Regions from separate parts of the Homo sapiens genome. Here regions 1, 2, 4 and 5 are each linked to region 3. Evidence: promoter capture Hi-C in 16 types of primary human blood cells and fetal thymus (Javierre and others, 2016). All regions are on one chromosome and are shown on one strand. The core of a region is centred on a gene start or on the middle of the fragment in contact, and the rest is flanking DNA. Distances in the headings are between cores, read along the strand shown. Region 1 holds the start of NAPEPLD (N-acyl phosphatidylethanolamine phospholipase D). Region 2 holds the start of DNAJC2 (DnaJ heat shock protein family (Hsp40) member C2). Region 3 holds the start of SDHAF3 (succinate dehydrogenase complex assembly factor 3). Region 4 holds the start of ORC5 (origin recognition complex subunit 5). Region 5 holds the start of FBXL13 (F-box and leucine rich repeat protein 13).

What was found. Contacts are between HindIII fragments. The CHiCAGO score rates a contact against its expected background, and 5 or more counts as called.
Region 1: a contact is called between the fragment with the promoter of NAPEPLD here and a fragment that was not itself captured in region 3, in 4 of 17 cell types (non-activated CD4 T cells, activated CD4 T cells, naive CD8 T cells and 1 more). The highest score is 12.2, in non-activated CD4 T cells.
Region 2: a contact is called between the fragment with the promoter of DNAJC2 here and a fragment that was not itself captured in region 3, in 1 of 17 cell types (naive CD8 T cells). The highest score is 7.0, in naive CD8 T cells.
Region 4: a contact is called between the fragment with the promoter of ORC5 here and a fragment that was not itself captured in region 3, in 1 of 17 cell types (naive CD8 T cells). The highest score is 8.0, in naive CD8 T cells.
Region 5: the fragment with the promoter of FBXL13 here is called in contact with a fragment that was not itself captured in region 3 in 1 of 17 cell types (non-activated CD4 T cells); the score reaches 6.7 in non-activated CD4 T cells.

Annotation. Positions count from the first base shown.
Region 1 is chr7:103,147,745-103,150,444 of GRCh38, reverse strand. NAPEPLD (N-acyl phosphatidylethanolamine phospholipase D) reads left to right here and starts at 1,346. Exons shown (of 5, transcript NM_001122838.3): 1 at 1,346-1,634. LOC105375434 reads right to left here. Exons shown (of 3, transcript XM_047421168.1): 2 at 1-1,427. The coding sequence ends at 625. The HindIII fragment of the contact is 3,849 bases long and covers 200-2,700 here.
Region 2 is chr7:103,343,462-103,346,161 of GRCh38, reverse strand. DNAJC2 (DnaJ heat shock protein family (Hsp40) member C2) reads left to right here and starts at 1,395. Exons shown (of 17, transcript NM_014377.3): 1 at 1,395-1,603. The coding sequence starts at 1,540. It also overlaps a transcript of PMPCB not described here. RefSeq lists an enhancer at 1,213-1,452. The HindIII fragment of the contact is 5,590 bases long and covers 1-1,980 here.
Region 3 is chr7:97,116,738-97,119,437 of GRCh38, reverse strand. It overlaps SDHAF3 (succinate dehydrogenase complex assembly factor 3), which reads right to left and starts at 1,740. Exons shown (of 2, transcript NM_020186.3): 1 at 1,541-1,740. The coding sequence starts at 1,714. RefSeq lists enhancers at 1,563-1,652, 2,003-2,082. The HindIII fragment of the contact is 1,525 bases long and covers 575-2,099 here.
Region 4 is chr7:104,206,694-104,209,393 of GRCh38, reverse strand. It overlaps ORC5 (origin recognition complex subunit 5), which reads left to right and starts at 1,381. Exons shown (of 14, transcript NM_002553.4): 1 at 1,381-1,561. The coding sequence starts at 1,490. RefSeq lists enhancers at 1,203-1,362, 1,413-1,492, 1,533-1,722. The HindIII fragment of the contact is 7,936 bases long and covers 865-2,700 here.
Region 5 is chr7:103,073,448-103,076,147 of GRCh38, reverse strand. It overlaps FBXL13 (F-box and leucine rich repeat protein 13), which reads left to right and starts at 1,352. Exons shown (of 21, transcript NM_001394494.2): 1 at 1,352-1,452. The coding sequence starts at 1,378. It overlaps ARMC10 (armadillo repeat containing 10), which reads right to left and starts at 1,008. Exons shown (of 7, transcript NM_031905.5): 1 at 737-1,008; 2 at 267-371. The coding sequence starts at 875. RefSeq lists an enhancer at 262-311 and a silencer at 582-1,421. The HindIII fragment of the contact is 4,996 bases long and covers 467-2,700 here.

The DNA of each region.
Region 1 (2,700 bases), core at 97-2,596, 6.0 Mb before region 3:
TCAGCAGCCACTCTAAGCTAGCCTGAGGAGATAAAGTCCACACTTGACATACAGTTCTTTACATTCCTCCAATGTCACACAGGCACATTCACTTTCAAAATGCAGAATAGTTTGGTCTGCATTTTTCTGCCAGTCTTATCTGCATTTAGAACCTGTGGTGGTGGTTTCTTTTTTGCCAAGATAACCCCAGGGACAAGCTTTTTTTTTTTTTTTTGACCCTGGCACACCCCAGGACTTTTATAATCTTTTTGCCCAACAACCCATTGTTGAATTTTACTTCGACATGCCTGTACTTTACTTCTTGAAACAACTAATTTCATTCTGCAGTTTAAAAAGCAAATCCAGTAAGAAACTCAGAATCACAATCGTATGCTCTTTCATAGTTATCCTAGCGTTAAAAAAGATGCAAATTTAGATGAGAACCGTGTGTACCAGGGGGCTGTGACATCATTTTAAAAGTAAACGATCACACAGTGAACAATGCCGTGCTCCCATTAATATTCAATACGTACTGTACAACATTTCAAATTAGAGTTTAGTTTCTTCGCTACCAGGATCCTAGCGCCATAGGCTGTAAGTATTCAAATGCTTCTCGACTGTGATTGAGTTGGCTATGACAGTCCGTCAATGGGTCTGCAGGATCCCATTTAGTTTTAGCAACTGTGGCTGGTGTCCAGGAATGCGTTCATGCGATCTGAAAGTAAGCCTCTGGCTTAGGACAGCGGGGGGAACCAATTTGATCTTAGGAGGGTCCCTGCAGAGTGTTTGAGTCGCGAGGCGGGCCGGGGCAGGCCGCGTGCTCCCAGGCGCTTCCTTTACCAAGATGGCTTCGGCGCCCCGGCCCACAGGGGCGGCCATCTTGGTAAGGGCTGGAGAGGCAGCCTGAAGGAGGCCACCGCTGGCCCTGCTGTCAGATTCGAAGGTCATAATAAGGGAGTGACCCGGCGACGACTCGCCCCAACGATGGCGAGGCGGCGAGAGCTGAAGCGCTGCCTGCAGCTGCTGGCGTCCTCGGCGGAGCCAGCGCGGCGGGCTCGGGTTAGGAAGAACCCGAGCGCCTGCCGCGGTCGCCCCTCCCGCTACGCGGCGGCGCTTTGCGCGGGGACTCTGTGGCCGGAAGCCGCGGAACTGAGGCGGCGCGCGCTCCCGGCCACCCCAAGCGCGAGGTGAGTCCGCACCCCCGCGCTCGCACCCCGCCGCTCTGGCCGCGCGCCCGCGGCCCGGGATCCCGAGTGTCCGGAGCTCCGTGGTTTCTGTTGGACCTCGCGGGAGGCGGTTTTCTCCCGCCTGCTGTGCTCTGTGACCTCTCTGCTGCCTCCTCCACGGTCTCTGGGCGGAGCAATCCACACTGCTGAGCCTGGGGTGGTTTGGAATTCTTCGGCGAAGTGGAGCGGGCTGAGAGTGGGTTTCCCGTCCCCGAGCCCTCCCTCATCTCGGAGATGCCGCACTTGTGAGCGACAGGGCTTCATTTGAATTTTCGCACCTCGCGAGTTGCGGAGCCTGCATCTCTGAAGCTGCCTCGGTGAAGAGCCACAGCATTATTTTTTTTCTCTTTGGGAGAGTAGCTGTCTGGGATTTGAGATCCTATCTTCCCTGCAAATTACCAGGTTGCATCTTCACTGATAGGAATACATGTGGGTTTATCTTCTTTTGGTTGTATGTAAATGAATGGGTCGACAACTTCCTCCGAGCAACTTATTGTTGCTTCATCTATAGTGTTTATCTTCTAAAAATCCATTCCAACAGGTTTCTCCCCTTTTATTTTGGAATAAGTGTACTTATTTAACTATGGAATGGAAATGAAGAGCAAAAAAAAAAATGGGGCTAGCTGGGGAGGGGTGGTGGAAGGCTGTGCTTTCTTGAGTTTTCTGTTCTGTGGTTGTTTGCTTCTTATAAATTGGGTATTATTGTGGGCTTTTCAGAACACGTATTCAGATAGGTTTTTGTTGTTGTTGTTTTGTTTGTTTGTTTTTTCCTTTTTTTTTTTTTTCAAGCTAGAGCTCGATATGGTAGATACTCTTCCATGGGTTCCGGGATCACATGCATTCATTATACGTCAGTTAAACCTGGAAAATATTAAGGGAGTGAGTAAAGTTTAACAGCCTTTTAAAAAGTCATTTAGTTCTTGTCTTTGCCTTTACTGTACGTTGTTATATATACATGTTATAATATGACTGACTCACCTGGTTGGCTTTGGCTTAGCATGAAATGTTTGCTACTTGATAATTCTGATTAATTTGTCCAGGAAGTCATTCCTGAGATGCAGTTCTTCAAATTGAGAAATAATTCCCATGTTTGTTAAAAAATGGAAATCTCTAACATTTCCATTTCTATTTTCAGTTACATTGGTTATGAATTAGCCGCAGACATGGACATCGTTTAGAAAGAAGTTATGTAATCTTTAAAAAGAAGATTACCTATATCCCACAATAGTGTGATTTTTGTTGCAAGAAAATACTGGGTCTGTTAAAGAAGAAATTTAGGGTAAAAGTACTTATTTAAAATAATAATTTAAGGAGAGATTGAGGGGTTAAATTTGTTTCAAGTCAACTGAAAATATAGTCAGGATTTTCAGAGATTTTGTTTTGTTAACATTCTGCAGGCTTTCCTGCTACAAGAATTATGGTAAGTCTCCAAGAGATAAAAATACTTAGTGTATTTCTCATACCCTTATTTTCACTCAGAATTCCAAATTATATT
Region 2 (2,700 bases), core at 146-2,645, 6.2 Mb before region 3:
GCCTCTGTCTCAGAAAAGAAAACAACAAAAAAACAAAAACCCATGTTAGAGTTAATGGTAAAATTGAATGGGAGGAGGTGTGAGGAAAAAAATATATTAATATGAAGAAAGTGGAGTCAGGTTACTTTGCACCTTGGAGCATGTTTTAACAGTGGTTGCATTAGTAGGGATCAGGAAGAGGTTTTGGGGCAGAAGATTAGTTCAATTTTTTTTTTTTTAAAGACGGGGTCTCACTGTTACCCAGGCTGGAGCGCAATGGTGTGATCTCAGCTCACTGCAACCTCCACCTCCCGGCCTCAACGATCTTCCCACCTCAGCCTCCCTTAGTTCAATTTTTGAAAAGTCAGTTTTGAAGTGACAATTTTATCATGCAGCAGATATACAGACCAATTAAATGTATTTAATTGGCCTGGCACAGTGACTCACGCCTCTAATCCCAGAGTTTTGGGAGACTGAGGCAGGAGGATCCCTTGAGGCCAGGAGTTCAAGACCACCTTGGGCAACATAGTGAGACCCTGTCTCTACAAAAAAAAATATACATATATATATATATAATATATTTAAAAACTTTAATTGTGAAAATATAATGAAATTAGTAAGTTATTTTCTAATTTACTAATTTCTGGTGGTCCTTGCTAAAGAGTGGCATATCAAGTTTATTTTATTGAACCTGTTTCAGATACTGCTGTTGGGGGTGAGCCTTTACCCACTGTTTGTTTTTGCTAGTTTTTGCTTTTGACTGCAGTCTTAGAAGGAAGCATATAGTAGGAATACAATTGATTTTATTATACATTAAAAAATTAAGTCCCAGAGTCCTATAATTGGGAATATCTTGAATAAAAACTTCATTAGAACAAGGTAAAAATATTGCTGGCCTTGGAATACAATCTAACACACTAGAGAGAGGTTTCTTCTCCAAGCGAGTATTAAAAGATATAATGCAGGTAAATTAGTAATAGCACGACAAATATTAGCTGCTATTATCATCATCAAGTTAAACACAAATGTATCACAAATACACGTACGTAATTCTCCGCAAATGTATATACTAGTCGTCGATACTGGTTCATACAGGTATTTTCATTTTTTACTTAAAAGTATAGCGCTCCTGGGAAAATCACTGATTAGGTTCAGATTAATACATAAAGCAGTAAGAACTTAAAGATAATATAAAAAGAACTGCTTTTAAAGGTTATGTTCTATGTATTGCACTGGGACGTGGAATATAATCCTTTTTACAGGAAAACTGATGCGCCTAGGAACCATTCTCTCGTGCGACTTGGTCTCCAGCCGGATCTCAGTCAGTATAGAACTAGGTTACCGCACACGTTGGCGGGGGTGGGAGGGTGTGAGACTGGCCTCCACACCACGAAAGATCCATCCCGGAAGTGCTTACTGGTCGTCTCCATGCGCCGGTTCCTGGGCGTCTTAGAGCCAAGGCGCGAGGCTCGGAGTGAGAGGTAGAGCTGGAGGGGACCCTAAGCGCCCTCCGCCCGGGACGTGAGCCGCTGCGCCCACCGGGCTAGACCCGGCGCCATCATGCTGCTTCTGCCAAGCGCCGCGGACGGCCGGGGCACCGCCATCACCCACGCTCTGACCTCTGGTAAGTGCCCACCCAACCTCGGTTCCTTCTCACCTCAGCTGCCCCTGCCTCAGTCCTCCGCCTCGGCAACCCTGGGCTCTCTCTACCCTTGACCCTGGCGACTAGCCCCGGGGCCGTATGGGGCCGTGACGAGTGCCTTTTTGCTCCGTGTTTTAAAGTAATCCTACCCTAGATTAGAAGGAAGGAGGGTGAGGGGTGCCTTCCTTTTGCTCCTACCGTTGCTTCCTCCTCTCGCCGCTGCTGACTCATGGATTGGGCTGAGCATTTCGGGACGGAACCCCCCAGCACCCCAGAAAGGTTCTCATAAGCATCTCCTTGCCTACGGTGGAAAGACTACGCGCAGCGAGCACCCCACGTGCCTGGGGTCGTACAAAGCTTTGCTACTGGCGCTCTCTTAAACAACTTTCTCCCTCTCTACGTTTGCTCCGGCCTTGTTTTTTAAATGTCACAACTCAGACACCGCTCCTCATACTCGGTGTTCAAAGACTGTGCTGCTGAAAAGATCCGCGTAGACTTTGAAAGGCAGTTATTACAAGTGAAACTTGTCCTGCTGCTGTAGGTTTTAGTTTTATGGCCCAGGACAGTCATGAGTATTGTAAACTTAAGAGTCTTCAGGTCCAGTGATCTACAGTAATTCCCATAGCCAGTCACATAGGCGCTTGTTGAATGTGATTTTGAACATAACCCATGGCACGTGTTGCATTTATGTGTCTCCGTGTGCCTCTTACAACTAGAGCAAAAGGCTTAAAAGGCAGTGTTCTTAAAAGCCACACACCCATACTACACAGGTAGTACCTTTTTGACAGTGTTTTAATCCTCTCCTGTGTAAGGTGGAGGAAATCTTAAAATAAGTTGTTCAGGGATTTTCCTTTTTTGAATTGCTAGTATACACATGTACAGTGATTTACCCCCACTTCCCAGGAATAGATGATACCTTTACTACAAGTTTGTAATTTCAGAGAGTTTCTGTGGTCTCATTCAAGCTTCCTAGGAACTGAATGAGATAAATAGGTATTGTTCCCATTTTACAGGTGAAGACATCCTGATTCATTTCAGGTCACATAGCCACTGTCAGACCTAGTCTAAAACCCAGAGTG
Region 3 (2,700 bases), core at 88-2,587:
TACTAGGTCAACTAACACATTTTTTATTTATGCAGTTCTTTTTTATACCCTCTCTCTCTCCTACAACCTATTATCAATTTTTTCTGAGTTGCTACTCTTTCCTACTTTTTCCCAAAGAGGCTTCCATGTGCTTACATTTTAAGACTTCTTAAAATAACCTTATTTCCTCCCAACAGAGAGCTACTCTCCTTCCTGTACGGCCACAAAATGACCTACCATAAAAGATGTAAAATACTTTAATACAGTATCTTATAGCTTCATAACAATTAGCAATACACAAGTGCTTGTAAATACATTTACATACGTAAATTTTGAGATGCATAAACACTTATTATTTTATAGATGAGAAAATAAGACTAGAAAAATTATGTGATCTGACACTTAAAATGTCAGAGACTGAATCTGAATCCAGTTCTTCAGGCTCCAAAACCAAATTACCTTATTAAAATAAAGTGCTCTGTGTCTGAAAAGCTTCAACTTCCCTGCTTCAGGCAAGCGAATTACATCAAATACACCATGATTTTCAAGAAAGTTCTAAATTTCCCGATTGTTCTAAATGTCGCTCTTAAAAGCTTCAATAATTATACAAAAAAGAATTCTGGAAGTCAGTGCAAAGTTTGTGTTCACCCTAACCATTCTTTTGATTTTTTTTTACAAAGCCGACTTCAGTCATCTCCCCTTCAACTATTTAGGCCGAAGAACCGCTTACCTCTATTTTCATATCAGCTCCAACTCATGCTTTCAAATATCTGAGCTGTCATTCCAATCTCTAATTCCATTCATTTATTTATATTTGCAAATGAAAACTAGGGGCAATCCTGCAGGGCCCCGAGCCCCACGAAATACTCTGAATATCTTTTTTCCTTTACTCAAAAAAAAAAAAAAAAAGTCAAACGACTTATTGCTAATGCATGTGTCTGTTTAATATTTAGCGCAATGGTGCAGGGCGAAGTAACAATGACTTGAGACCGGAGGAAACAACTTTCGCCTGACTTAACTGCCACCAGCATTTTTCTCCTTCACAGTTTGTAATCTCCAACCTTTTGTAATCTTTTTCATGTTACCTGATTTCTGTATCAGCCAAGTGAGAAAATTATTTAAACCCAACCAAAAGCGCTGAGATTAAATAATAAATTACGGAAATAAGCCTTTAAATTTGAAAACTAATAAGAGAACCATTAATTTATTAATGGGCGCTTACTAGGTGCAAAGGCACTTAAAAGGACAAAAAGCTCCTGAGGTTTTTGAGCACTTAACGACGACTTGCTCATTTTTGTGACCTCCTACCCTCACCCTTTGAGCACCTGGCATCTGCAGGAGCTCAAAAGTTGAACTGAATTGGGGACGCTGAAGTAACAGGATCTGCTCTAGTGAGAAACCCGTGGGAGAAACTTTGGAAAGTGTTACCTGAACAGCATTACGCTATTTCAAACAGAACAGGTTGCTGCTCTGTTTAACCCCGCATGGGGGACTGGAACTAGAAACCTGGACACCGAGGAACCCCAAAGGTCTTGGGCAAAGAGAAGGGAGCGTCACTTGCCTCCCATTCTTGCAAGAAACGCTGTGCCTCGTCAGAACCAACGGTCTTATGTCTCCTAAATTCGTCTTTCACGTACTGGTCGCCCAGGGATTTGAGGTCCGGGGGCAGAACACGGTGCAGCTGCAAGACGCGCTTGTACAATGCCCGGACTCGAGAAACGTGCCGCCCCGGCATAGCGCCCCACGCCGACCGCCGACTGCGCCTGCGCAGAGGGACGGCGCGTTCCCGCACTTCTGCGAACTTGCGTATTAGTGAACCGGAAGGCAGACGAAAGAGGGCGCGCGACCTCTATCCGGTTTGGTCCCTTGCACAATCAGGTCCTCCCGGAAACCCAAGCTCCGCTGCGGGCGGAAAACGGGTCGGTCCTTCTCTAGGAGGGGCGTGGCCCTCGTGGAGTCGCGCCTGCGCCTCGTCGTGGCTTCTTCTGGCCTGCGTCCTGACGACACAGGCCTTGAAAGAGAGAGGTCTGTGGTGGGCCGTTGTCATTTCTCAGTCCCACTCCACTGTCTTTTTCATTCAACTTCGTTTCTGTCCTCCTACCAAAGGCCTGAGAAAAGCTTCGTTAAGATCGGGCTCCTCCGGGATTCCTTCCATGGTTCCCAACCCATTTGAGGCATTTAGAGTATTACTGCACCCTGCTTTAGGGATCAGAGTGAGATTAATCTCGCCATCCACTAGCTCACCAACCCACGCTCTTTGCACAGCGCTGTTCTCCCAATTTATACTCTGGGCATGGGCTCTTCCTTGCAAACAACCCAAGTGAGCCCAGAGCTGGCGGACTCCTTAGCCAAAGTCAAGTTGGCTGCTGAAGGATCCTTGGGAAGAGTTTTAAACGTATTGTTTCCAGGACCACGACCCTGGAGATTCTGGTTAAATAGTCTAGGATAATAAGAACGAGGAATCTAGAAATTTACAAAGCTCTATCTTTTGCGAAGGTAATACTGAGAGTAGAACTGGTTTCCAAAGCTGGCAGCTCCTTGTGTTGTCCTTTCCTGTCACACGTTTGGTTCTTCAGCAAATCCTGATGGCGTCACCAACAAAAATGCAGAAATCAACCATTTCGCCCCATGTACTCTACCACAATCTCTCTCCACTGGATATTGTGTTAGCTTCCATATCTGTGTTCAGCTTCTGGTCATGACCAACTTTGGTCATGCTCC
Region 4 (2,700 bases), core at 132-2,631, 7.1 Mb before region 3:
CATCCAGATGGTAAGGCATGTTCTCTCAGATCAACAATTATCTTTATTATGTAACTGCCAGGCGTTAACTGTGTATGCTGGAAATTGAACTGTGAAGACAGTGTTTCCTGTCCTCATAAAGTATATAGAGAGGGAGACTAACATTTTAGACAGTTTAGTCAGTTTTATTGAATGCTATAAAGATGTCGTGTTATGATTATAATATATGTATACCTTATATGCACAGTATGTTACGGACGTATAACCATCTTAGGAGAGTATCAGAGGCCAGCTTCCCTTGGAGACATTGAAATTTAATGGGTGGTCCCATTATAACCTTTAGAATTCTCTATTAAAAAGTACCTGGGCAAATGCTTTTGAATTGTTGCTGTGAAAATACTATTTTGACTAGCTAATACGTTATATACCACAACTCTCAAAAGATCCTTTTGACCATCACAAATCTAAGACTGATCTACAATCTATGGGCAGATTGAAGTCCACAATTTAAATTTATGTATAACAGGTAGTATGTACAGGATCTTCTACTCCTAGCAATAACCTAGCCAGTATTATCCCTATTTTATAGATAAGGAAGTTGAGGCTCAACTATTCCAAAGTCCCCCTATTCAGCAGTTGAGTCAGTCAGTGGTCCCAACCCAGGGGTTTCAGGACGCCAAGCTCTCTTTCCACCATGCACTTGCCTACTTCTGTATCTTATTTCCAGAATCTTCTAGTGTTTAGTCGCTAGTAGGTGCCTCACAAATAAATACACGTGAAAGCCTAATGCTAAAAGTAGCATTATTTTTACTATCAACCTCACCAACACACACTACGACTTCATCCCATTAGGACTGAGAGGCTTTCCACATCTGGTTTAAAGCTTGCACAAAAAATAGTAATTCCAAGCTGTGCATTAAACCCCATTACACCCTGTTTTGTACTCAATGCCACTAATTTCCCACAACGTCGTCAGGGAAAAAAACGACAACAAAAACATCTTTTGACAATATTAGTCTTCTAAGTCCGCCTTCCACGTCCCTCTAAGGGCCCCAGCTCCGGGTCCGTCTTCTTAGGCACTCAAGGTTTCTAAACTTGGGGCTTCCAGCCGGTAAAACTAAAGGCACGGGGTTCAGGGGTCATTGGAGGCCCACGGGACCCCCTTAACCCCTTCCACCCCTTCCCTATTCGCCCATCTCCATGTCGTCTCCTTAGCCTTTGAGTGGAAAAAGCGTCAGCCCGAAATCCCCACCAAGCCCAAGAATGGGCAAAACCTCGGCGCGCACAGGACCAGCGAGAAGAGGATGGTTCCGGCCCTGAGACTAGAGCGGCGGCGACGCTCGGCGTACGCGCTGCCGTCACGCCGCAGCCCGGCAGCGCAGGCTCCTCCCACGACGCTGCGGGTCCGGTTTCCGGCGGGAGCGTGGGCCGCCAGACTCGGGAGAGGCTCCGTCTTGTGCAAGGGTCCTGTGGGCTGGCTGCACTGGCCTCTGCGGTGGTGCCTGCCAGAATGCCCCACTTGGAAAACGTGGTGCTTTGTCGCGAGTCTCAAGTGTCCATCTTGCAGTCCTTGTTTGGAGAGGTATTGTAGTTAAACTGTCTTCCAGATCCTGGAGGCAGACGTTTCGGTAGTCTTGCGACCTGTTCCAATATTTGTTTTTTCGTGTTTGGATTGAGGGCCAAAAGGCCGTTTTTACGTTAAATAGGGGTGTTGTGGTTCTGTACTGCAGCTTCACCCACAGTCTCTTCCGAATATTGAAGAGGAGACAGTCTGAGAGCGACCGGCCTGCACTATAGGACGTTGCCTAAGACGTATTTGAAACACGCCACACTTTTCAGAAGTTTGCCCACATTAGCTCCTAGAAGTTGCTTGTTATCTTACCCCAACCCAATGACATTTATGTAACAGATGTGTTTGCAGGGTGTTATTTATTCAAATGTAAGTTCACACGTTTCTGTGCGGTAGTTGGAGTGAGTCAAGTGTAGAGAGGTGGTTGCTTTCAAGGCCACTAAGGGCCAAAGCAGTGCTTCAGGTTTAAAAATTTACTGGCTTTTCCAGAATTGTAACAGTCCAGAAGAGGTCTAGGGTAAACTTTTCTCCTTAACTGATAGTTCACAGGATGCCCTAGAGAGGAGTTTGTCTTGTCTGGATGAACATAGATACGTAGGGAGTCCTTTCAATAGGCAGAGGGTAGCGTTCACCAATTCAAAATTTAACCTATTTTTGACTATTTTCTGGTGGTCTTTGATGTGCTTTTTGATTCAGACTCAATCAGAATTGGAATTAATCAAACTTGGATCTTACCTGCGAAGAGAGTGAATGAGAATTCAGGGTCATACTCATACCCCCATCTTCTGGTTTGCTTTTTTAAGTACAGTCATGCGTTGCTGCCACTTAGTGAGGGGGATACGTCCTGAGAAATGCATCGTTAGGCAATTTAATCCCTGTGAATATCAGAAAGTGTATTTACACAAACCTAGATGGTGTAGCCTGCTATACACCTAGGCTGTATGGTGTAGCCTGTTCCTCCTAGGCTATAAACCTCTACAGCGGTGCTACTATACTGAATACTGTAGGCAGTTGTAACACAGTGATAAGTCTGCATCTAAAAGTGTCTAAACATAGAAAAGGTACAGTGAAAATAGGGTATTATAATCTTATGAGATCACTGTTGTATATGTGGTCCATCTTTGAATGTACACGTGACTGTACTTTCATCC
Region 5 (2,700 bases), core at 103-2,602, 6.0 Mb before region 3:
AATTGCCCGTGATGTGTGAGGCAATTTAGTTTGTGCTTATTCAACAATGAAGCTGTTTAGCTCTCTTCTACAATTGTGGACAGGAGTTTCTTGGATGGCAGATATGATATTTTAAATTATTTCCCTAACAGCTTCCATGATGTGAAACATGCCTTTGGAGGGTTTTAATGTACCGATCAACTTTTGGACAGAAACCGAATCATGCATTTGTCCGCTGGGAGGGTGTGTCTCGCGCAGACAACTGTTCCCATTTCCAAAACACACACCAGGCTGCGAGGTCTTGGACCACTGTGACTCCCAGGTACCTCCCGTCTGAGGCCGGGCCGAGCGCCCGCACAACTGACCCTCTGACGTCCCTTCTTCCAGGGCACCTGCAAGCAGAGATTGACCTATGGCTCTGGGCCCCTCAACAGCCCTTCCACAATCGGGAGAATCCCTTTAGTTACACAAAGGCCCGGAGCAAGCTTTAAAATGAGAGGCCATCAACAGGTTTTTAAGAAATCTAATCCTCCGCTGTGACGCGGAGCTCAGGCAGGAAAGCCAGGGCAAGTTTTCATACCAGTATAGTCAGCAAAGGGGCGGCGGGGGCGGCGCAGCACCCTGCACTCACACAAGTACTGCCTCTCCCTCTAGCTCGGCTCCTCATTTTACCCCGAGCACACGCAAGCCACCACCCCGGCCTGGGGAGCCCCCCTGCCCAGTCCCCGCCCACCTGCCGGAAACCCCGGGGTCCCACCTGCGGACTTCGAAGAGCGTATCCCGAGCTCGCGGTCGCCCCGCCGCCGACCCCGGGTCAGCCTGTAAATGCAGTAGCAGGCGCCCGCGCCGAGCAGCAGGCCCGCCGCCACCCAGCCCGCGCCCCGGGGGCCACCCATGCTGCCGCCGCGGCAGAGCCGCAGCGCCGGGCCAGGGCAGGAGGCTCGCGGGGGCCAGCGCGGAGGTCTCCAGCGCACGCGGGCCTAGCCGCCACAGCAAACGCCACCTGACCTGGATGTGGAGAAAGGAAATGGGGTCTGAGCTCCGCCTCCCGGAAACGGCCTAGCTCAAAGCCTATAACCGCCCACTCCAGCCCGGCGCGTCCCGGCGGCTTCTCCCAGGCGAGGCGGGGCGGTGCGGGGCGCTGCACACCGGGAGGGGGGGGTCGGACGGTGCGCCCCACGCGGAGACGCCGGGGCCCGCAACCCAGAGCCGAGCTTCCCGTCTCTTCCCCCGGGGCGTGAAGCAACCATTCCTCCCTCCCGCCCCTGGCAGCGGAGCGCGGGGCGGTGCCACGCCCAGCCCCGCCCCCTGGTTGCCGGGACAACGCCCGCACGCGCCCGGCCCCTAGTCCCAGCGCGGGGAGGGTACTATCGCAGCTTCTCCGTCAGGCCTTGGGCCATGGCCTCGCTACGCAATGCCAACCCGAGGCTGAAGAACTACTTCAAGGAGAACTACATTCCTCAGGTCTGCGAGGTACTGGACACGCGTGGCAGCGGACACAGACCGTCGGTGGGGAGTTAGAAGGGGGAGGAGTCAGGAAAGACTTCCCGGAGGAGGGACTAGGTTTCGGGATTGGGGAGGAGTGGAGGGAAGGCGGGGCAGAATGCGAGAAAGTGAAGTCAAATTCGGACTTGTAGGCGATCAGGGCTGAAGACGCTGATTAGAGAGAAAACAGAGGGTGATGGTGGCTGCACGTGGGGAATGGGTGACATCTCCCAGGGGGAATGAGCACAAGGCCCAGATCGGAAACCCCAAACTCAGATTTTAAGGTTTGGACAAGAAGTACCTGAGGAGTGGAGGAGTGAGAAAGAAGTGCCAGAGAGCCTGAGGAGGAAAATCAGCAGACTGGCATTATGAAGAATGTTGTCAGAAGTAGGGAGTAGGCACTAGTCACCTAAGATAAGGAGCTGGATTCTGCCCAAGGTGAGCCTGAGGTTTCCATGGAGCCGTGAGGGCAGAAAATAGATGGAGGTTAGCGGAGGGAAGAGTGGAAGCTGAGACCTTTGGTCAGTGTAGTCAGCCCTTTGTGAAGGTAAGGACCCTCTCAACCAGGATTGCCTTTAGACAACAGGAAGGACTGCCCTCCTACTGCCGTTATAAGAGTAGGGAAGGAAGACAGGAAGGGGATAGACATTAGGTTTTGTAGGTTTGGGGGTAGGAAGCTGAGAACATTTGCCTTTGTTGACCTCTTTTTTTCTCTACAAATAGTTGGTGAGATATTTACCAAGAATGTGCGTGTTTGAGTGGGGATGGGGATGTTGGTGCAGTAGGAGGTTCGAGCAAAGATACGTTATGTGGAGAATGAGGGAGAGAGATGTCTAGGGAAAGAAAGAGGAGGTCCTACCTGAGGGTAGTAACGCTCCTAGGCGGTTGGGAGGGCAATTTGGTAGAGACCCCCCACCCGTCTCTTTTTTGGATGGTAATTGAGAAATATTTATTAAGATGTTAAATACATGTACCCTTTAACCAAGCATTTCTACTTCTAGGGATCTACTTTAGAGAAATACTTGCACATGTGTTCAGGAGGATGTACAAGGATATTCATTATAACTTTGTTTCATAGTAAAAATAGTAAATGACCTAGAGTGACTAAGCGAATGAGGCATTATGTAGAATAAAGTATATCTGTACCTACTAAGAAGAAATGTCCTCCAAGACATATTATTATTATCATCATTATTATTGAGACACGGGGTGTTGGTCTGCCACCCAGGCTAGGGT